Linked DNA regions of Homo sapiens: regions 1, 2, 3, 4, 5 and 6 are each linked to region 7. Evidence: promoter capture Hi-C in 16 types of primary human blood cells and fetal thymus (Javierre and others, 2016). All regions are on one chromosome and are shown on one strand. The core of a region is centred on a gene start or on the middle of the fragment in contact, and the rest is flanking DNA. Distances in the headings are between cores, read along the strand shown. Region 1 has its middle 82 kb from the start of THORLNC. Region 2 overlaps LOC107985940 (a long non-coding RNA gene). Region 3 has its middle 110 kb from the start of THORLNC. Region 4 has its middle 24 kb from the start of THORLNC. Region 5 overlaps INSIG2 (insulin induced gene 2). Region 6 overlaps LOC107985940 (a long non-coding RNA gene). Region 7 holds the start of EN1 (engrailed homeobox 1).

Region 1 (2,956 bases), core at 385-2,884, 580 kb before region 7:
TCTCACCTGTAGAACCAGGCACAGCACACCTACCTGCTAGTGTTGTGGTTAGAACTGTGGGCAATAATTTATGTAAAGTACTTGCCACAGTTTCTGGAACACACCACAGGGCTTAAGAAATGGTAACCATTATCTTCCATGAGGGTTACCAGTGGGGTTAAGCACAATTTAGAGGGACACAGGGAAAGGACCTAGAACAAAGGCACTTGGGACGTGGACACAAGATCAAGACCAGTGGCTGCTGGACATCCTGCTGACCAGTAGAGACAGACCCTTATAAGGCCAGGTCCTGAGGTCACTTGCGAGCCATCCTTTAGAATCTAATGCCTTCGACAGTAGACAGAAGAATACTAGCCTTATTAATCCTCCCTACCTACAGATAAAATCTTACACCCTAAGAAAGTGGAAAGAGCACTGGAGTGGGAAGCTGGAGACCAGCTCTGCCTCTGTACCAGGCAACTGGTAAGTCTGGAGCAAGGCTTTTGGCTTTCCTGGCCTCAGTTTCTCCAATTGTAAAATGAGTGGTCTGAATTGGATAGTTTCTAAGGTTCCTTCCAGCTCCAAAATTTTATAATCCTGAGAAGGGTTTATTATTTCCCTTCCAGGAAACGTGATCACATTGTATATTTGAGATCAGTTTAGTTTTACTGAGCCGAGCTTCATTCTCCACATACATATGCACACTCTAAATACACACATAAGCAGATGTATATACAGGCATTGAAAGAGGAAATTGTCCCTACACTTCAGTGCTTTCAACTGAGCCATCAAGTCATTCAGGTATTTATGATGGGGAGAAAAATACATGCACTGTTTTCCTCTCTCTGGAGGATCATGCCAGGAACTCCGCCTGGATGTATAACTCGTGTTGGGAGAAAGAAATGAGAGTTTGACATGCGAGTGGTGGCTGTACAAAAAATGCAATAACTTGTCTCCTCTCTGGCCCTGTATTTCGTGCACCAGCACGGCTGTCCTCTCAGTCTTTGATGGGCCCCACTAACAGACGTGCCCCTTTCTCTTCTTAAACCCTCCTGGTATTTGAATTAGTTTGGTTTCTGCCACGCCTGCATCCTGCAGCTATAGTACTATCTGTTCTCTTGGCCTATAGATTTCTTTCTCTGTCACTCATGAAACCCATGCTTATGGGGCCGTTACTCTGGGTCAGGAAGTGTGCTCAGTGCTGAGAATGCAGCTGTGCAGAGGACAGGCTCCATGTTCTCCTCAAGACTCTAGCAGGGCTGTGTTAGATAGAGTAAAGCTGGCTACCCAAATACTCAGTGTTTTAATATAATACAAGTTTATTCTTGGCTTATGTCCTATCAATTCAGTGTAGGTATTTGACAGGCAGGCTTCAAAATAGGCATTCAGGGAGCCAAGCTTCTTCCACCTGGAGCCTTGCCACCCCCAGGGTTGCTCGTCCTTTCCTTCCATTGGTAGATGGGTACAGGATGAGCGTGGAGAAGGTTCGTTCACTTCCAAACTATTTTAGCTCTGAAATGGCACTCATCACATCACGTGCACTAACTGAGTCATGTTCCCCTCCAGACTGAGGGCATGTCAGGAACAACATACACGATGGACAGGGAGCACTAGTCTTCTGTGGACAGACGCCAAATGAGCACTCCCTAAAAGGAGCTTGGGAGCTATGAAAGGGGAGAATTGAGTGCTTGGGCAGGCCTAGCCGAGCCCAGGGACAGTGGAGGCTGCCCGAGGAAGCAAAGTGCAGTTCACCAGGCACGAAAAGAGGAAAGGCAGAGGTACTGGCTGAGGATCTTCAAAGCCTGTGGGGTAGGGGAAGGGAAGGATCTTCTAGAAGTGAAGCATGGATTAAGGCACTGTGTCAGAAGGGGAGGTGGACGGGAGAGATGGAGGGGAGGAGGTTGCAGATCATGAAGCTTCTAGTAGGCCACGATAAGAAATTCTGACTTTGTCCTAAATACAAAGGAAACTCCAGGAAATGTTTAAGCAGGGGATGTGAGATGACTGCTGCTTTTGAAAGCTCACCCCGGCTGCTGGTGAGGATGTGATCCTGAGGCAGACAGATTCACCAAGGGCTACTGTGGCCATCTTGGGGAAGGACTATGGATGCAGCCCAAGGGGTTGTCAATGGGATGGAGAGTAGAGGGAGATTCGGGGGACATATAGGTGGTAGATTCCTAGAAATAAGTACCTGTTGGAGTTCCCTGGTCTCGTCTTTCCTACTTGGGTTATCATAGTAGCCTCTTGACAGTCATCGTGTCAACACTTACCTCTGCCAGCACTTAGATGAAGTGGCCATTTCGCTCCCTCTATGGGTCAGGCTCTATATGGCAGGTAACACAGGCCACTCTAGCCAGTTTTAGCAGAAAGCGATATATTTATGGGTAGAGGAAATGCATAGAACTACTGGGAGGACAGAAGAAATAGATTCTAGGCAGGGTGTTCGGGAGGAACTCCCAGTGCCCACTGCAGAACTGGCCTGCCAAGCAGCTGCCTCCTCTGCAGCCACCAGGAAGTTGGCACCTTAGCTGTCCCCTCTCCAGGCACGCTGCCACCCTCTGCCAGCAAAACAGAGGGCCACGCCCCACCTCGTCCATCCTATAACTGCTCCAAATCAAAGCTTACTGCAGGGGCATCTGATCAGCAAAATTGAGTCACATTTGCCTTCTAATGGCAGTGGAAGCTGGAAAATGTGGTTCTGGGGAATCTCTGATGGGAAGGTAGGTTTCACATTCAGGGAACAATCCAAATGCAAAGGGAGTGTTCCAGAAGTTTTGGGCAACCACAGATGACAGATGTGTACAACACTCCCCTGCTCACCGTGTTGAGTGTCTGACACCCGCGTCTCATCATTGAAAGCTCGCAGCAGTGCCACTGGAGGCACTTTCTTCCCACTCACCAATGAAGAAACTGACTCCTAGAGGCAAATGAGCTTGTCCAAGGTCACATGGCAAGCAGTTGGCTGCGTTGAAATTTG
Region 2 (2,798 bases), core at 39-2,538, 770 kb before region 7:
ATTTAAAGGGGTGCTAAGAAAAGAAATTAAATATTTTCAAAGTTTAAGTTTTGGCAATACAGTGGGGTGGAAGCAATGGAGGAGCTCCTAAGAAACTAATATGGGCTCAGAGGATGTTCTCTGATGAATTTAAACAGAAAATAGACAAGTAATCACATTTAAAGATAAAGTAGCAATATAAGCCTGTAAGAATATTAGATGCTAATGTCCAGAATGTAAGTGAGCTATATGAAGAATGCTAAGTTAGTAAAAGGAAGCCTACACTTCTACGGAGAAGGGAGAACAAGTAACAAATATCTTTACTGCATGGAGCCTAGGCTCTGTTTGTTGGGCTCTGCTAATCCTAGTGTGGAGGCTTTAAAACTTGTCCGCAAATGTTCTCACTCTCCTCTCACTGAAAGGTGGAGTCCAGATCTCCTCTTTTCTCCTCTCTGGGATAATCTCAGTGACTGGTTGGCCAACACAGTATGGCAGAAGTGCCCATGTGTAACTTAAGAGGTGATACAGCTGCTACCTGGTTTGATACAAAGCAATGAATAACTGAAACACCTGGTGAGAATGTCAGAGCAGAGAAAAGCACACATTTGCTGATGTGAGGCATTTACTCCTGGGAGACCGAAGAACAAATTCAAAGTGTGATAAGTATCAGGTCTAAGGAGTGAAGTAAGGATGAAAGATGAAAGTAAGTATTAAGGTCAGGCTGGAAACAGGTTAGGCTGTGGAGTGCAAGCATTCATGACTGCACACTACAAACAATACCAGTGTAATTGGGTCAGGACTGATGTGATGAGCCATACAGGGCGCATTTTTATGTGTGACACAGAAATATTCCCAAGGTCAAAGGAGCCTGGTAGTCCTAGACACTCACAATGTTAACAGATAACAGGAGGAAAGGAGAACTCCCTAACCGCTTTAATTCCTATTTTCTCTCCAGATGAACAATTGTCACATAGAGAAGGGCAACATTAACACTGGTTTTTAAAAAATAAGGTAGGTGAGGAATCTATAAGTAAGCACTGGCTACTGAAGCTGTGTGTAAGTCTCACAACCTAGATGAGTTACGTTTCTCAGACACTAAAAGAACTTTAGGATAAAACAGAACTCCTGTCAATCATCATGAAGAATCTTGAGAATTAGGGAATCCTGAAAATGGGTAAATGTCTTCTTCTAAAAACAGAGGTGAATCCTGTGAATGCTAGGTAGGTGGGCATCAGATCTGGGTTATCTTTCAGAACAAATCCTCAAAGAGATGATTTATAAGCCTCAGCAAAGGAGTCAGCATGAGTTAATGAAGATGAAGTGGTTAACCTGAATTTCTATATGAATTTACCAATCTCTAATGACATGATTCTGAATACGAGCTGGGCACATAGTGAGAATGGCTGTAGGCAAATAATGATTTCTGATGAATGGATTTATGTTAACCAAAAGGCACACCTCCAGAGTCCACCACAGGCCCCTGTCCTTAGTGTTGCATTATCGAAAATGTTTATTACAAATAAGGTTCTGATGGCAGGATGGCGTGCTGACGCAGGTTGCAATGCGCACTATTATACTGAATGCTGGAATCTGTACCAAAAGTATCTTGATAGGTAGTAACTATGGACATGTTTTAAAAAGGAGAAATTCAACAGGGAAGCCCTTTTGTTTAGGACCTAGCCTTCACTCCCAATAGAAAAAAAAATCCAAATGCCCCCAAAGTTTTACCCCAACAATAAAAGAACAGGATAGAAAGAATATGGTTTGTGCGCATGGAAAGGATTTAAGAGTTGTCTAAATTTAACAGCTCTATACAACTTAATAGTGGGATGTGGCCGACAAAAATGCTACTGTGATGGGATGTTATGTTAAAAGAAGTATATAGAACAAAAGATGTGATGGTGCAGCTCTGGTGTTTGTTCTGAAAGTGGTCCTGTGAAGGGATAGTGACAGACTGAAGCATATCCAGAAGAAAGCAACTACTATGGTTAAGGGATGGAGAACAAGTCATATGGAAAATGACTAAAGAAATTGGGTATATTTAGACATGACAAGGATCTTCGGGGAGCATGGAGCAGGAAGCAGATTTAACAATTTAAAGGCTGGCACACAGAATTGAGTGGCAATGTGTGGGAGCCATAAAGAAGCTGGAGAGACTTGAACCCTAGGAAAAACTCTCTTGTACCTGGACCTATGCAAAGATAAAAGCAGTTTCCTCAAGAGGTGAGGAATTCCCAAACTGAAGGCATTCAACAGACATAGGAAGGTCATTTGTCAAAGATAATATTAAAGCGAATAAGAATAAATCTGCAAAACTATGACCTTTTACCACTACTTTATCACACTTACTCCTTACAACAGGAGGCACTTGTATGATGAAGAAATTGAAGAACAGAGAAATAACTTGTCCAAGAATATGCAGCTGGTAGTGGAGAGCACAGCCTGCAAGGCAGATATGCCTTATTCTAAACAGTGCACATGCCCCAGGCTTCCTCAAATAAAACTGAGCTCTTATTTCCAGGAGAGGACACTGGATCAATCTCCAAAAGGAGAAATGGGATCCACTGAAGCTAGAGTAGCTAATACATCCTCTGAGAATATTAAACATCACCAGGAGTCTTCAGGCCATTGATGAGCTACACATACTGTTTCTCAGTTTGGAATGGCTTTTCTGATGATGGTTCTATTACAGCTCAATACCAAAATTAATTTTATAAATCTAAGATCTGCTTCTTAAAGTTCTTTCAGTTTTCTCCAATCATTACCAAAGTATTAATTCCTAGCCTTTAAAAAAAGTAATGCTTCTCAAATTCCAAGAG
Region 3 (2,872 bases), core at 19-2,518, 550 kb before region 7:
TCTGTAGGGTTTCTACACACTGACAATGAGGTATCTGAAAAATAAATTAAGAAAATAATCCTATATACATAGCAATAATACTCTATCATTACAGTTGCATGAACTTCCATTCCCACGTTCACTTCTTTGTCATCTCAATATTATTATACCAGAATTGTTTGTTAAATTGATAGTCAAAATTTGTATCATCACCACTATACAAAAAAATTAACAGACTAGATATTTTACTAGATTGCATTTTCTTTTTCAGACTTTCATTTTTCATCTTTCCTGGAATTAACAATGGCTTTATGATTTTATTTCCCTGGCTTTTTTTTTTTCCCCAAAGTTTCCAATAGCTCGCTCAAAAATACACCATTATTTTCTACAATGTCAATGTGTCGATTCCACTATTTCCTTGAAGACAGTGGACTTTTGTTCTGGTCTGAATGAATAACTTCTTAGATCTGCTATGTAATTGTCATCCTGAGATTTTCCTTTGCTACTTTCCAGCATTGAATTCCTGTATTCTGTTGTATTTTTTCCCCTATTTGGTTTTTCCAGAGTATATACTCTAGTAGCTTTCCCAGAAAGGGTACACAAGAAGTACATTTTTTTGTCTTATTTGCCTAAAAATGTCTTTATTCTGTCTATAAAGTTGATTATTTTTACTAAGTATAGAATCCTAGATTGAAAATTCAAAATAATTATTCTTAGAATATTGAAGGCATTGTTTAATTATCTTTGAATCTCCAATATTGTTATTTTGGATTCTCAGTCTCTACTATGTGACCTGCTATGCTGTTTTCCTACAGACTTTTGGTATCTTATCTTTGCTTATAGTGTTTCAAAATTTCAATTATGTGTCTTGATTCTCTTGTATTCATTGCACTTCATACCCAATGAGCCCTTCATCATGAATACCAGATAAGCCTACCAACTTGGAGGATAATTCTCTTCCCTTCTGAGGTGTTTTCTTAATTGCTGGATAATTTTTTTTCTGCTAGTTTATTCTTTTTTCCAAGCACTTCTATCATTTGAATATTGGGCTTCTTGGACTAGATCTTAAACTTTTAACTTTTCTCTCTTTTCTCTTTACACGTTTGTTCCACTTTCTGCATTGTTTTCTCATCTCTTTCAGTGGTTTTGTACTGTATCAGCTTGCTTAACTCAGAACTATGTTTTCTGGAATCCTCTTCCATGAGTGGTTCCATGGTGCTGATTTTCTACTGTGATTTTCTACTGGTCTCCTTGGTTACATTGAAACTATGTTTCCAAATCTCTTTCCCTGTATGGTTTGGAGTTACAGCCAGTCCAAAGAGAATCCATGTAAGATTGAGAGGTGGACATGAAGCAGCAGCCATCACATGCTGGATGTCACCATGATTAGAGGAAGTGAGTGGTGGGGACAGATTCACAGGTGTCAGTGGATCCGTGTTCCACATGCTGTTCCCTCCCTGTGTCCAGCTCTTCTTTCCTACCATTGGTCCTGCTGCCCATCAGTGATCACAGAAGCTGGCACTAGGAAAAGAAGGCAGCCTTTCACAAATGTGTGCCCCAGCAACCCTTCATAGCTCCATGCCAGCAGCTGAAAGTACCTAAAATCCAGATGTCCCCGAAGTCTCCAACTTATCCACCTGCCCTAGTGCTGTAGGAAGGCTAGTTAGGGACTGTATTCGTCTGTTTTCATGCTACTGATAAAAACATGCCCGAGACTGGAAAGAAAAAGAGGTTTAATGGACTTACAGTTCCATACGGCTGGGGAGGCCTCACAATCATGGTGGAAGGCAAGGAGGAGCAAGAGGAGCAAGAGGAGCAAGTCACGTCCTACATGGATGGCAGCAGGCAGGGAGCTTGTGACGGGAAACTCCCATTTTTAAAACCATCTGATCTCATGAGACTCATTCACTGTCACAAGAACAGCACAGCAAAAACCGTCGCCCATATTTCAATCACCTCCCACTGGGTTCCTCCCATGACACATGGGAACTGTGGGAGTTACAATTCAAGATGAGATTTGGGTGGGGACACAGCCAAACCCTGCCCTTCCCAAATCTCATGTCCTCACATTTCAAAATCTATCATACCTTCCCAACAGTCCCCCAAAGCCTTAACTCATTTCAGCATTAACTCACAAGTCCACAGTTCTATGTCTCATCTGAGACAAGGCAAGTCCCTTCTGCCTATGAGCCTGTAAAATCAAAGGCAGGTTACTTACTTCCTAGATACAGTGGGGATCTAGGATGTGGGTACAGGCATTGGGTAAAGACAGCCATTGCAAATGGGAGAACTTGGTCAAAACACAGGGGCTACAGACCCCATGCAAGTCCAGTATCCAGCAGAACAGTCAAATCTTTAAGCTCCAAAATGATTTCCTTTGACTACATGTCTTGTATCCGGGTCGCACTGATGCAAGAGGTGAGTTCCCATGGCCTTGAGCAGCTTCACTCCTGTGGCTTTGCAGGGTACAGCCTCCCTCACAACTGCTTCATGGGCTGATGTTGAGTGTGGCTTTTTCAGGCACATGATGCCAGCAGACGGTGGATCTACCATTCTGGGGTGTGGAGGATGGTGGTCCTCTTCTCACAGCTCCACTAGGCGGTGCCCAAGTAGGGACTCTGTCTGGGAGCTCCAACCCCACATTTCTCTGCTGCACTGCCCTAGCAGAAGTTCTCCATGACAGCCCCACCCCTGTAGCAAACTTCTGCCTGGACATCCAGGTGTTTCCATACATCCCCTGAAATCTAAGTGGAGGTTCCCAAACCTCAATTCTTGACTTCTGGGCACCCACACAGAACACCACATGGAAGCTTCCAAGGCTTGGGGCTTGCACCCTCTGAAGCCATGACCTGAGCTGTACCCTTTTAGTCATGGCTGGAGCAGCTGGGATGCA
Region 4 (2,700 bases), core at 181-2,680, 690 kb before region 7:
CATACATCATAACCAAGTGGGATTCATCCCTAAGATGCAAGGATATAAAATCAATTTATGTGATACACCACATTAACAGAATATAGGATATAAATCACATGATTGTCTCAATTGATGCAGAAAAAGCATTTGACAAAATTCAACACCCCTTCATGATAAAAACTCTCAACAAACTAGGAACAGAAGTAAAATATCTCAGCATAATGAAGACCATCTATAAAAAGCCTACAGCTAACATCGCACTCAATAGTAAAAAACTAAAAGCTTTTCCTCTAAGATTAGGAATAAGGCAAGGATGCTTACTTTCACCTTTTCTATTGTAGGGGCCAAGGGAAAATTACTCTTTATCTTCAGATGGTTCACTGAAAAATCAACTGATAAAGGTGGATTAATTGGAGAAAAGGCATACAAATTTATTAACTTGTATATGGGAGAGAACCACAGCATAATTACCCCAATCACCCAGTAGGTTTCAGAACCTTATGTGCCATCTTGAGGTTACAGAAGGAATGGGGGTTGGATATCAGCAAAACAGATTATGGGAGGGGGAGAAGAGGAAGCCTGGCTAACAAAGGTGGTCCTGCTATGTAAGTGAAACCTCACAGGTAGTAGCCTTCAGAGAGAATGAATAATGAATGAATGTTTTCTTCAGATCTTTTTTTTTTTTTTTTTTTTTTTTTTTTTTTTTGCATGTGTGTGGAGACAGGGTCTTGCTCTATTGACCAGACTGGAGTTCAGTGGCACAACCATGGCTGTCTGCAGCCTTGAACTCCTCGTCCCAAGCAATCCTCCAGCCTCAGCCTCTCAAGTAGCTGGGACTACAGGTACACGCCGTCACACCTGGCTAACCGTTTTTTTTTGTTTTGTTTTTTGAGATGGAGTCTCACTAGATTGCCCATGCTGATTTTGAACTCCTGGACTCCAGTGATCCTCCTGCCTTGGCTTCCCAAAGTGCTTGGATTGGAGACATGAACCACTGCACCTGGACTTTCAGACCTTTAAATGTATTATACTCTCAGTTAATCTTTTGTAGATAGGACGAGGGAGAGCCCCAGAGAAAGCCTGGCAGCATCAATGAAGATTTCGTACAAATGCAAATCTCCCCTCCAAAGACAGCTTTGCAGGGCTACCTCTGTTTGCAGACTTGCTGAACAGCCACCTCAAAATATGTCAAGGAAGTATATTTGGGGATGAAATACTTTGATTTCCCTCACTCTTCAATGCAACATCGGAATTCCTATCCAGAGCAATTAGGCCAAAAAACAAACAAAAAGGTACTTAAATCACAAAGAAGTAAAATTGCTCCTATTTGCAGATGACATGATCTTACGTATAGAAAACCCTAAAGACTTCATAAAAATTTTCGTTGGAACTAATAAACATATTCAGTAAAGTTTCAGAATACAACATTAACATACAAATATCACTTGCACACACATTAACAATGAATATGAAATGGAAATTAGGAAAACATTCCCATTTACACTAGCACCAAAAAGAATAAAATACCTAGAAATAAACTTAACTAAGGAAGCAAAAATCTTGTATACCAAACACTACAAAGCATTGTTGAAAGAAATTAAACAAGACACAAGCAAATGGAAAGTCATCTGTGTGTTCATGGATTGGAAGACTTAATATTGTTAAAATGTGCATACTTTTTAAGACAATCTGCAGATTCAATGCAATTCCTAAAAAAAATTTCGTTAGTATTTTTTACCAAAATAGAAAAACAAAATTCTACTATGCAGCCACAAAAAAGAACAAGAACACATCTTTTGTAGGAACATAGATGGAACTGAAGGCTATTATCCTTAGCAAGCTAAAGCAGGAACAGAAAACCAAATACCACATGTTGTCACTTATAAGTGGGAGCTAAATGATAAGAACTTATGAACACAAAGAATAAAACAACAGACAGGTCTACTTGAGGGTGGAGGTTGGGGGGAGGGAGAGGAGCAGAAAAGATAGTTATTGGGTACTCTGCTTAATATCTGGGTGATGAAATAATCTTTACAACAAACCCCCATGGCACTTGTTTTCCTATGTAACATGTACCCCTGAACCTAAAAGTTAAAAAAAGAAAAAAATTCTAAAAATAATTTGGAACCACAAAAGACCAATAGCCAAATAAATCTTGAGAAAGAATGACAAGGCAGTCATCACACTCTCTGACATCAAAATATAGGACAAAGCTATAATAATTAAAACAGAATTGTCATGGATAGATATATAGAAAAATGAAACAGAATAGAGAGCCCAGAAAAAAATAACTATGCATATATGTTTAATTGATCTTCAATAAGGGTGCCAAGGATATACAGTTGGAAAAAGATCATCTCTTCAACAAATGGTGATAAGAAAACTAGATATCCACATGTAAAAGAATGAAATTGGCCCTTTATCTGACACCATACGCAAAAATCAACTCAGAATGGTTTAAATGATTGAATGTAAGACACAAACCTATAAAACGCCTAGAAGAAGACATTGGGGGAAAGTGCCATGACAATAGTCTTGGCAATGATTTTGTGGATATGACAGCAAAAGCAGAGGCAACGACAACAAAATAAACAAGTGGGACTACATCCAACTAATAAGCTTCTGCACAGCAAAGAACACAATCAAGAGTGAAAAGACAACATATAGAATAGTAGAAAATTCATATGATTTGGCTGTGTCCCCACCGAAATCTCACCG
Region 5 (2,886 bases), core at 305-2,804, 750 kb before region 7:
GCTTTGGTAGACTGTAACTAGTCACTGGGAAATAACTTAAAGGTATCACAAGAAATGTGATTTTTGCATCAGAGAACCATTTGATTTATAAGCAGGATTGTGTTTGCATATGATTTTACACAGGCATGATTTTAACAGTCTTTCTTGTTTTTTTTAAAAAAAAGTACAAGAAGAGGAAAAGAGGCCCAGACATACTCTGTTGAGCTCTCAAACAGTGGAACCTCACAGTGTTGTATATATTGCTATCAGACTCTGCCATGCCTTTATTTAAAGGAAAGAAAGAAGACATTTAATGGGAAGTGACAAGCTTCTTCGAATTCTCCCTCTCAGTGAGCAACTGAGAACCATGCATACTCAATGGATTTGATTTTTATTGGCAAATCCCAGGGTTGGCAGTGTGGCAGTTTAAATTTCTTTTTGTGTTTTTGCTTTCTCTCCTCAGTTGTCTCTCACTTGCAAGTCTGACATCACATGCATAAAAATATAGTCGATTTTACTTATTTATACCTTTGCACATACATGTCAGTATTCTCTATGTAATAATTCTTTACCTAGGCATCAGTTGCTCAGGAAAATTGACTTGGAATGTCTGCTCTTAGTTGACTTTACTCAGCAACAGGCAAAGGGAGGATATATATGGTGGGGGGATGGGGGTGACAAATGAGCTGTTAGTTTTATGACCCCTTGAGAAAAAAAGAGGTGATATTCGTTTAACTACATTTCAACTGTTAGGGATGCTTGTTGCCATTTTATTTGTATAGAAATTTTAAAATCCTGTCAGTTAATCTTGTCAGGATTTTGGAGCAGATTTTTAAATAGGAATATAGTGTGAAACTTCTAGATTTACTAATAGTTATTGGAGCTCTGCATTGCCGAGATATGTTCTTAATCTCTTGATGTTCTGTGAGCCATCTATACTCAGCACATGCCTAACTCAAAAGAGTTGTGGACTAGAAAATGCATACAGTATTGCAGCATCTCATCTCGAGATAGAAGGGTGGTCACACAGCCTTTTTCAAATGCTGCACCATTGGTCTGCTAGGCTGTGATTTTTGATACTAATTGGTTTCTGTTTTTCTTCGAAGAGTGAATGCATTGCCTGTGAGATACAGCTGGCTAATACTGGGTAGGGGGAGGGCCTCTTGTCCCTCAGGCACTTAGATTTTGGCGTTGTAATTTCATGATTCCTCTTAAGTGGTATTGGTTATTTTAAACATGCTTTTCAACTGATGTGACAGTAGTGTCTTTATTGCCAGAATGGCACAACATAATCATCCTGTTTTTAGGAAGATTAGAATATTTTCATTAAATAGTCTTTTTAATAACTAATTTAGCACTTAAAATTCCTTCCCACTAAATGAATAAAATGTTGAGGTTTGAGAAATAAGAAAGGGATGAGAATATTTTGGGACTCAATCATTGACATTTTATATACAGTTATGTATAATTAATGACACAACATTCAAAGTGTTCTTTCCAAAACTAAGAGAAGTACTAAGATGATTTCTTCTTCTAACAGTGCACTTAAAATTTAACTGAAAATTTTAAATACCTCTACACCTTGTTTCCTCCATTGTTTCTATGTGCAGAATGAGTCTTACCTGTAGATTTCTGTTGTGAGTTTTCCTGCTTTGACAATATGACCTACAGCCTCATTAAAGGGCTAGAGTGGAAAGGAGTGTCAGTAAAAGGTGCTACATGCTGAAGACTAAAACGGGAAGCTGGTAGGGGCGAGACTGATCTACGTAAGAGGCCAGCCAGAACCTTCAGAACATTGTGTGTATGATGAGCTTGTTGTATACTTTTATACTTCTAGATTCTCTTAGATTTGTGGCATATAATAAATATTTTATGGTTTGGAGTTTAGAGAGAACATTACTTAACTGCTAACTGGTTTGATACTTTTTTCAGGTCTCGTAGGTATCAGTAGTAGAAAAGTAGCATGAATCATTTAGTAGCACGAATCATTTAGTCCAGTCTGCTAAATTGTGAATCATACATTTGAAGAGTATTTTGTTGATTATAATTTAGAATGTTGTTGTAATCATTTGCAATACTTTCTTCATTGGTGTTATCCTCATTTCATTTCCTTTGGAAGGTAAGTTAAAAAATATCGGTGATTGATGTGAAATAACTTTTTTTTTTGTTTTTTTTTTTTTAAGAATCTTTAAAATGCTTGTGGTGGTTGTAGTGATTCTTTTAGCTTAAGTGTTGCCAGTACAACATTGGAGGTAACTTAATTTTTTTCTTTTTTCCCTACAGCTGTGATTGGGTTATTATACCCCTGCATTGACAGACATCTAGGAGAACCACATAAATTTAAAAGAGAGTGGTCCAGTGTAATGCGGTGTGTAGCAGTCTTTGTTGGTATAAATCATGCCAGTGCTGTATCCTTTACTCTGTAATGAAATGCATAATAACAAAGTGGCTTCCAACAAACCAAAGGTTAAACAGCCCCTTACAACTTCACTGTTGTCAAATTATGATATGCCCACTTAGTCAGAAGAAGAATGTCAACCATATTGTTGAAACATCGGTGTAGCAGCTGTGCAATTATAAAGTGGGGTATAGCCTTTCATTTCATTGTGTATTTTTCACTATCACTTAGAAACTTTGCAAATTTGAAAACTTTACTTGTTTTTCTTAAATTTGGTTACTTAATTACTTTTGTGTAGTTAATCCAAAAATGGAACAGGTACATTTTCAGAGGAGTTTTTTCCTCTCTTTCTTTGTTAAGAATTGCTAATAAGTACATGTGGTAGCTTCAGGTGCTATTTTGTCTTTTGTTTTTCTTAACTTAAAGAAGCTTTTTTTTTTTAAAGGTAGATGCATTGGTTTTAATCAATACCGACAAACCACATAAACGGCATAAGTAGAAATACCAAC
Region 6 (2,765 bases), core at 44-2,543, 790 kb before region 7:
AGAGAGAGTATTCCAAGATTCAGAAACGAGAAGCTTGAGTCCTGGGCCCAGAGCTGGCACAGCCTCACTTCTATAGTATTCTCAAGCTTATTGAAAGGAGAGTCACTCCCCGCTGACCCTCCTCCTATGCTTTCCACATGTTCCCCACCCTCAGGCTCCTGCCCCTACCAGCCCTCTGACACTGCCCTACTTGAGGTCACCAAGGATCTCTTCATCACCAAACTCAAATATCATTTTGCTCCTGTCTGTATCTTACACAATTTCTCAGCAACAGCTGACTTTGCCAATCATTTCTTTCTTGCAACTCTGCTTTCTTGGCCGTTCACACTACCTTCTCCTCCTCTGCTTTGTCTTCCCCCAGGGAGATTTGGCAATGTCCAGAGACATTTTTAGTCATCACAACTGGGGTGCTACTGACATCTAGTGGGTAAAGGTCAGTGTTGTTGTTAAATATCCTATAAGGTACAGGATGGCCCCCACAACAAAAAAATTACCCAGTCCTAAATGCCAGTAGTGCTGAGGTTGAGAAATCCTGCTGTGGTTTTTAAAAAGAGGGTACTGGAGACAGGATGAATCTTGGCACAAAGGAAACTCACTAATGGCAGAGTTTCTGGCCTCCTTGGGGAGTTATCTCTGAAAAGGGACTCCTTTCTGGTAAACAACATGGTGTAATGGAAGGGGAAGGGTTTTGTGGTCAATAGATCTAGGTTTAAATCCTAACTTTCCTAAAGTGGAGGTCATAATTTCTATTTTGTGGAGTTGTCTTGATGAACAAATCAGATAACCTATATAAAGTATACAGTCAGTTCATAAATGGTAGCCCTCCCCCTTAAATCACATGATATAGCAGATGTCATGATATAGCAAGAGGTGGCTGGCACATAATAAGAGCTGAATAAATATTTGCAGGATGAAATATGAATAAACTCATTGCCTTACTCCTTTAAGAAGTTGGTTGCCATGAGAGCTCTCTAGCTAGAAATGATTTATTTTTTTCTGTCCTTTTTGGACCTAAGGTTTAGAGATAAGTTTCACAACTCTGCATCATAGTCTGGCCCCATCAGTATAATAGCTAGTGAGGTTTTATGAGGCCAGGCCATTGGCTTGGCATGCAATCCTCCAATTAGAGGGCATGTGACTGCCCATAATATAAAACAGGAAATATGGATAGCTTTATTCTCTTGTGGACACAGTAAAATTGGCAGAGAAGAATAATAAATTCAGAGACCTATGTGGTATCTCTTGTCCTCAGTATTGATACTAATAGTGAAAAGAAAAGTTTGTATATTTGGGCATGGGGAGTGGTCTCTTCCCCTTTATCTTTTTGGTGTCTATGAACAATGCATCAACCTAACTTTCTGCTGAGATTCAAAGACAGAATTACCATGGAGACCACCTCCTTGGGATTTTCTGTAGTACAAAATCATTGACATTAACATCTCCCTATAACTCCTTGTCTTGTTCTGATTCACCTTCCATATTGTAATCAGGGTAAGCTCTTGGAAACACACACTTTATCATGATACAATCCCCTACTCCCTATTAAATACATTTCAAAACATGTCATACAAGCCCCCATGTGGTCAGGCCTTTCCATCCTTTGCTTCAGACTTCAACTTACCTCCCTACATCAAAGCCCCTTCACAGAGCTGTGTCTCTCTCCTTCACGGTCCTTGGCAAAGCTATACAATGGTTCATTTGTTAGTGTCCTTCTTTGATTAGCATCAGTCTCTCTCTCGTAAACTCTTTGCTCCATGACAGCTGGGATTGTGTATCTTTTAGCTTTCATAGTATCCCCAGAGCCTGGCACATCCCCTGAGCCTGGCTCAGTCAAGTCTTCCTAAATAAATGAATATTTAAACAGAATAGATGATATCATTAGTAAACATTACTTTCCTACTTCAGCCTAGGACCTAACCAAAACCCACTTTTTTTTCTTCCAACTTTTATTTTAGGGTTGGGGGCTACCTGGTGCAGGTTTGTTACATGAGTAAATTACATGCCACTGGGGTTTGGTCTACAAATGATTTCATCACCCAGGTAGTGAACATAGTACCTTATAGGTTGTTCTTCCATCCTCACCCTCCTCCCACTCTTCACCCTCAAGTAAACCCCTGTGTCTATTGTAGTTCCCCTCTTTGGGTCCATGTACATTTAATGTTAAAATCTACTTTTGTCTAAATATGTGACTACCACTTCTACACCAAGGAAGCTGTGAGATATCAATAGTACAAGTTTACTGATGATGATTACAATGATGATGATGGTAATATCTATGTAATACTAATATACAATTAAATAATAAAATAATTATATAAAACAGTTAAATCTTCATTAATATTTGTTGAGTGCTTGCTCTATGCCAGATACTATACTAGGCAATGGGGATAAGCTCTTGAGCAAAATCAGACATGGTATTTTTCATGCATTATCTTATTTAATAGGTCTATTAATTAGGCACAATTATTTTCCCATTTTGTAGATGAGAAATTGTGACATTGGAAGCTTAACTAAATTGCTCATGATCATACAGCCCATAAATTGGTGTGATATAGCGGTTATTTGAACCCAGGAGTGACTCCAAAGTTATTAACCATTACATTGTATAATTTTAGAAGAAAAGAGATTAAGTTAGGCCTAAAAGGTAACATCTATTGGCAAGTGCAGCAGATACTAATAGATGCACCAGCATCCTCCATGGACTGGGCATTACTACACACCAGACACTGTTTAACATGTGGAATATATGTTTTCTCTAATCTTCA
Region 7 (2,889 bases), core at 56-2,555:
CCAGGCGGGCCATACGAGAGGCTGCTGCGAGTCAGTTTTGACCACGGGCCCGCCGTTGGCTGAGCCCATAAGTAGGATAGCCGGGTTGCCGTGCTCCGGGTATTTGGTGCCCTGCGCTCCGGGGCTCCCCGCGCCGCCTCCACTGCCGCCGCCACCGGTGTCCGAGGGCTTGGCTGCTGCGGCCGCCGCCGCCGCCGCCACTGCCGCCGCGGCCGCCGCCGCCGCCGCAGCCGGGTTCCCAGCTTTAGACGCGCCCGCGCCGGCGGCGGCTGGCTGGGAGCCGTCGGGTGGGCCACAGTTCGCGTCCGGGGCGCACAGGAGCGAGGCAGCGCCTGGCGCCCGGGTGCCCAACGGGTGGACAGGGTCTCTACCTGCGGCAGTCTGGCCTCTGTCACGCTCGACCCGGCCTCCTCCTCCTGCGCCTCCTCTGGCCGCCGCAGCCACCAGAAGCTGCGGTGGCGGCTGCTCCTTTTTGCAGCCGAAGTCCGGCCTCAGGATGTTGTCGATGAAAAAGTTGGTGGTGCGGTGCAGCTGGGCCGCTGGCTGCGGCTGGTGAGCAGGCGCCGCGAGATGCTGAGGCGGCGGGGGCGGGGGGTGTGGGGGGAGGTGCGGGTGGTGGGCCAGGGGCGGCAGGCAAGGCGCCGCGGGCGGCGAGGGGGGCGCAGGCTGCGGGGACACCGGCACGCTGTCTCCATCGCTGCCGCTGCCGCTGCTGCCGCTGGCGCCCGGACTGAGGCTCAGGCTGAGGCCGCCCGGAGTCGCCGCCGCCGCCGCGCCGAGGGCCGAGTCGCGCTGACTTTTAGGTTCCGGCTGCTGTTCTTCCATGCTCGGCCGCCCCGCCGCCCCGGCCGCCGCGCCGGCCCCCGCCCCCACCGCCTCGCTCCCCACCCCACTTTGCCAGCGGCCCGTGGGGGTGCGCGGAGGAAGGAGGCAGGCGAAGCCTCAGCGAAGGCACGGGGCGGGTGCAGGAAAAAAGCTCAGGCGTCTGGCCTGGATCGCTCGTTCTTATCTAGCAGATAGATCTCGCTGTCTCTCCCTCTCTAATTTGTAGACATCCAGATATGGAGACACTTGGCTATTTCTTTTTTCTTTCTGCAACCAGATTCAATGATTTGATTTAAATGGGGAGTAAGCCACGGCCAAAAAAATGAAGGAAAAAAAGAAAAAGAAAAGGAAAAAGAAAGCAAGAAAAAAAGCTCCAATAATTTTTTTCTTAAAGGGAAAAAAATAGTATTTAAAGTCTAGCCATCTTCCTAGGCAGTAGTGAGGGGTTTGACTTCCCCGAGTGTCACGCTCAGCTGTGCCCAGAGCGTGAGGCTGGCAGCGCCTTTAATCGCCTTTGCTTTTTTTGCAGGGAGAGCGCGTCTCCGCCAGCGCCGGGCTGTTTTTTTTTTTTTTTTTTTTTTTTTTTTTTTCAAATCTCTGACAGCTCGGATCTTTGCACAAACTCTCTCGCTTAAAAAAAAAATCACCCAGGCACACTTTTTGCCTTCAAACCGGAAGCACGTGAGTCAGGGCCGCACGTGTGCGGAGCCAATGGCGAGCCGGGACTCGCGCTGACACTCGGGCCTCGGCCCAATGGGCGCGCGCGGGACTTTGCGGATAAATAATCCGGGGGCGTCAACCGCTGGCGGAGAGGGGGCGCCTCGGCGCTGGCCCTGTGCGTCGGGTCCGCCCTCCCCCACCCGCGCCCGCACCCGCGTCCCTCCCCCTCCTTCAGGCCGGGACTCAGGAGGGGGCAGAAGAAACCCGGGAGGGGTGAATTTTGGGATGTAGGCAAATGGAGAAGCAACTCCATAAACAACTTGTTAGAGAAATGCAGGATTATGGGTCTGTGAGCTACGGGAGCAGGGGCAGTAGGCAGGAGCCTGGCTGTTTTGCACCCCCACGCCTAAGAAACTCAGCTTTTTATTTTCTCCTCTGTCTCTGGTTGCTGTTATTGAAGGATGGGTGGTTGTTGTCACTGCCGGTTTGTGTGTTTGTGGGTGGGTGTGGGTTTGGGTGTGTGTAGTGGAGGGAGGGGGAGTGAGACAGGGAGGTCGGTGATGTGAAATAGACCTAGAGTTGGTTACTTTCAGAGGCGCAATTTGTTTTTCACAAATAGCAAAATCTGAAAGGCCCGCTGCGCCTAGCTAGCGTCGCACGTTTACGTTTGTACGTCTCCTGCCGGCCCGCTGCATTGCTTTCCCTTTGTGGGGAATCCGCACCCATGCCCTTCCCGGTCCAGACTTTCGACAACACCCTGGAGCTGCCCTGGCGCCATAGAGCCAAGCCCAGAGGGCTAGGAATAGCCCCAGAGCCAGTTGCCTGGACCTTCCCTGGCAGTGGGAGTCCGGGCAACGCAGATTAATCTCAGGAGGGCCCCGGGGCCGGCGAGTCAGAACGCGGATGCGCGCTAGGCCCTAGCTTTTAGAGTTCAGGGTAACCTCTGTGTTAGATTTCCCTGCAAAGTAAAATCAAATAAATGAAAGCGCTGCACCCCAAGTATTTGCCCTGGCTAGCTGAAGTTGTGAACAGGGAGTTTCCCTCAATTGCCGGGTGACTGAATTTCCTGGGATTGCTCCCAACTCCCTGGGTGCCTCCGGCTCCAGCTCTGTGCGTTCTTCCCTAGTTTGAGGGAAATGCCGTTCCTCCAGCTGCTATCATTCTCCCGTCTGCCGATCTCTTTTTCGCTATTTCCTGGTCGAGGCACCCCCAAAATTTTCTCATAACCGGGAATGTGAGGGACGGGGGTGGCGTGTGGACTGAAGCTCTAGGCACCTGCGGGACTTGTCTCCGGATTCGTTTTGGAGGACCAGTATCCGACTATGCTGAAGCCTGCGGTGGCCGAGAAAGGCGTCAGCAAACGAGGCCTTCGGGGGTGTCATCTTAGAGCTCCAGCGGACCTCC

Evidence for each region. The method cuts DNA at HindIII sites, captures the fragments that hold promoters and counts their contacts. A CHiCAGO score of 5 or more calls a contact.
Region 1: a contact is called between a fragment that was not itself captured here and the fragment with the promoter of EN1 in region 7, in 4 of 17 cell types (naive B cells, non-activated CD4 T cells, M0 macrophages and 1 more). The highest score is 7.5, in naive B cells.
Region 2: a contact is called between a fragment that was not itself captured here and the fragment with the promoter of EN1 in region 7, in 1 of 17 cell types (total CD4 T cells). The highest score is 10.4, in total CD4 T cells.
Region 3: a fragment that was not itself captured here is called in contact with the fragment with the promoter of EN1 in region 7 in 1 of 17 cell types (M2 macrophages); the score reaches 5.3 in M2 macrophages.
Region 4: a fragment that was not itself captured here is called in contact with the fragment with the promoter of EN1 in region 7 in 1 of 17 cell types (non-activated CD4 T cells); the score reaches 5.5 in non-activated CD4 T cells.
Region 5: a fragment that was not itself captured here is called in contact with the fragment with the promoter of EN1 in region 7 in 2 of 17 cell types (naive CD4 T cells and total CD4 T cells); the score reaches 8.2 in naive CD4 T cells.
Region 6: a contact is called between a fragment that was not itself captured here and the fragment with the promoter of EN1 in region 7, in 7 of 17 cell types (non-activated CD4 T cells, naive CD4 T cells, total CD4 T cells and 4 more). The highest score is 11.8, in non-activated CD4 T cells.

What each region holds. Positions count from the first base shown.
Region 1 is chr2:118,267,324-118,270,279 of GRCh38, forward strand. No RefSeq gene overlaps it. Among named protein-coding and RNA genes, the nearest start is that of THORLNC, 82 kb to the left of the region's middle. The HindIII fragment of the contact is 518 bases long and covers 1,376-1,893 here.
Region 2 is chr2:118,079,960-118,082,757 of GRCh38, forward strand. All of the region lies in intron 1 of LOC107985940 (a long non-coding RNA gene), which reads right to left. Among named protein-coding and RNA genes, the nearest start is that of INSIG2, 7.1 kb to the right of the region's middle. The HindIII fragment of the contact is 5,040 bases long and covers 1-2,798 here.
Region 3 is chr2:118,294,380-118,297,251 of GRCh38, forward strand. No RefSeq gene overlaps it. Among named protein-coding and RNA genes, the nearest start is that of THORLNC, 110 kb to the left of the region's middle. The HindIII fragment of the contact is 3,038 bases long and covers 1-2,787 here.
Region 4 is chr2:118,160,549-118,163,248 of GRCh38, forward strand. No RefSeq gene overlaps it. Among named protein-coding and RNA genes, the nearest start is that of THORLNC, 24 kb to the right of the region's middle. The HindIII fragment of the contact is 2,337 bases long and covers 263-2,599 here.
Region 5 is chr2:118,100,935-118,103,820 of GRCh38, forward strand. It overlaps INSIG2 (insulin induced gene 2), which reads left to right. Exons shown (of 6, transcript NM_016133.4): 3 at 2,263-2,387. Among named protein-coding and RNA genes, the nearest start is that of INSIG2, 14 kb to the left of the region's middle. The HindIII fragment of the contact is 2,499 bases long and covers 306-2,804 here.
Region 6 is chr2:118,061,177-118,063,941 of GRCh38, forward strand. LOC107985940 (a long non-coding RNA gene) reads right to left here. Exons shown (of 3, transcript XR_001739662.3): 2 at 1,622-1,840. Among named protein-coding and RNA genes, the nearest start is that of INSIG2, 26 kb to the right of the region's middle. The HindIII fragment of the contact is 2,419 bases long and covers 85-2,503 here.
Region 7 is chr2:118,846,343-118,849,231 of GRCh38, forward strand. It overlaps EN1 (engrailed homeobox 1), which reads right to left and starts at 1,306. Exons shown (of 2, transcript NM_001426.4): 1 at 1-1,306. The coding sequence starts at 825. The HindIII fragment of the contact is 11,695 bases long and covers 1-2,889 here.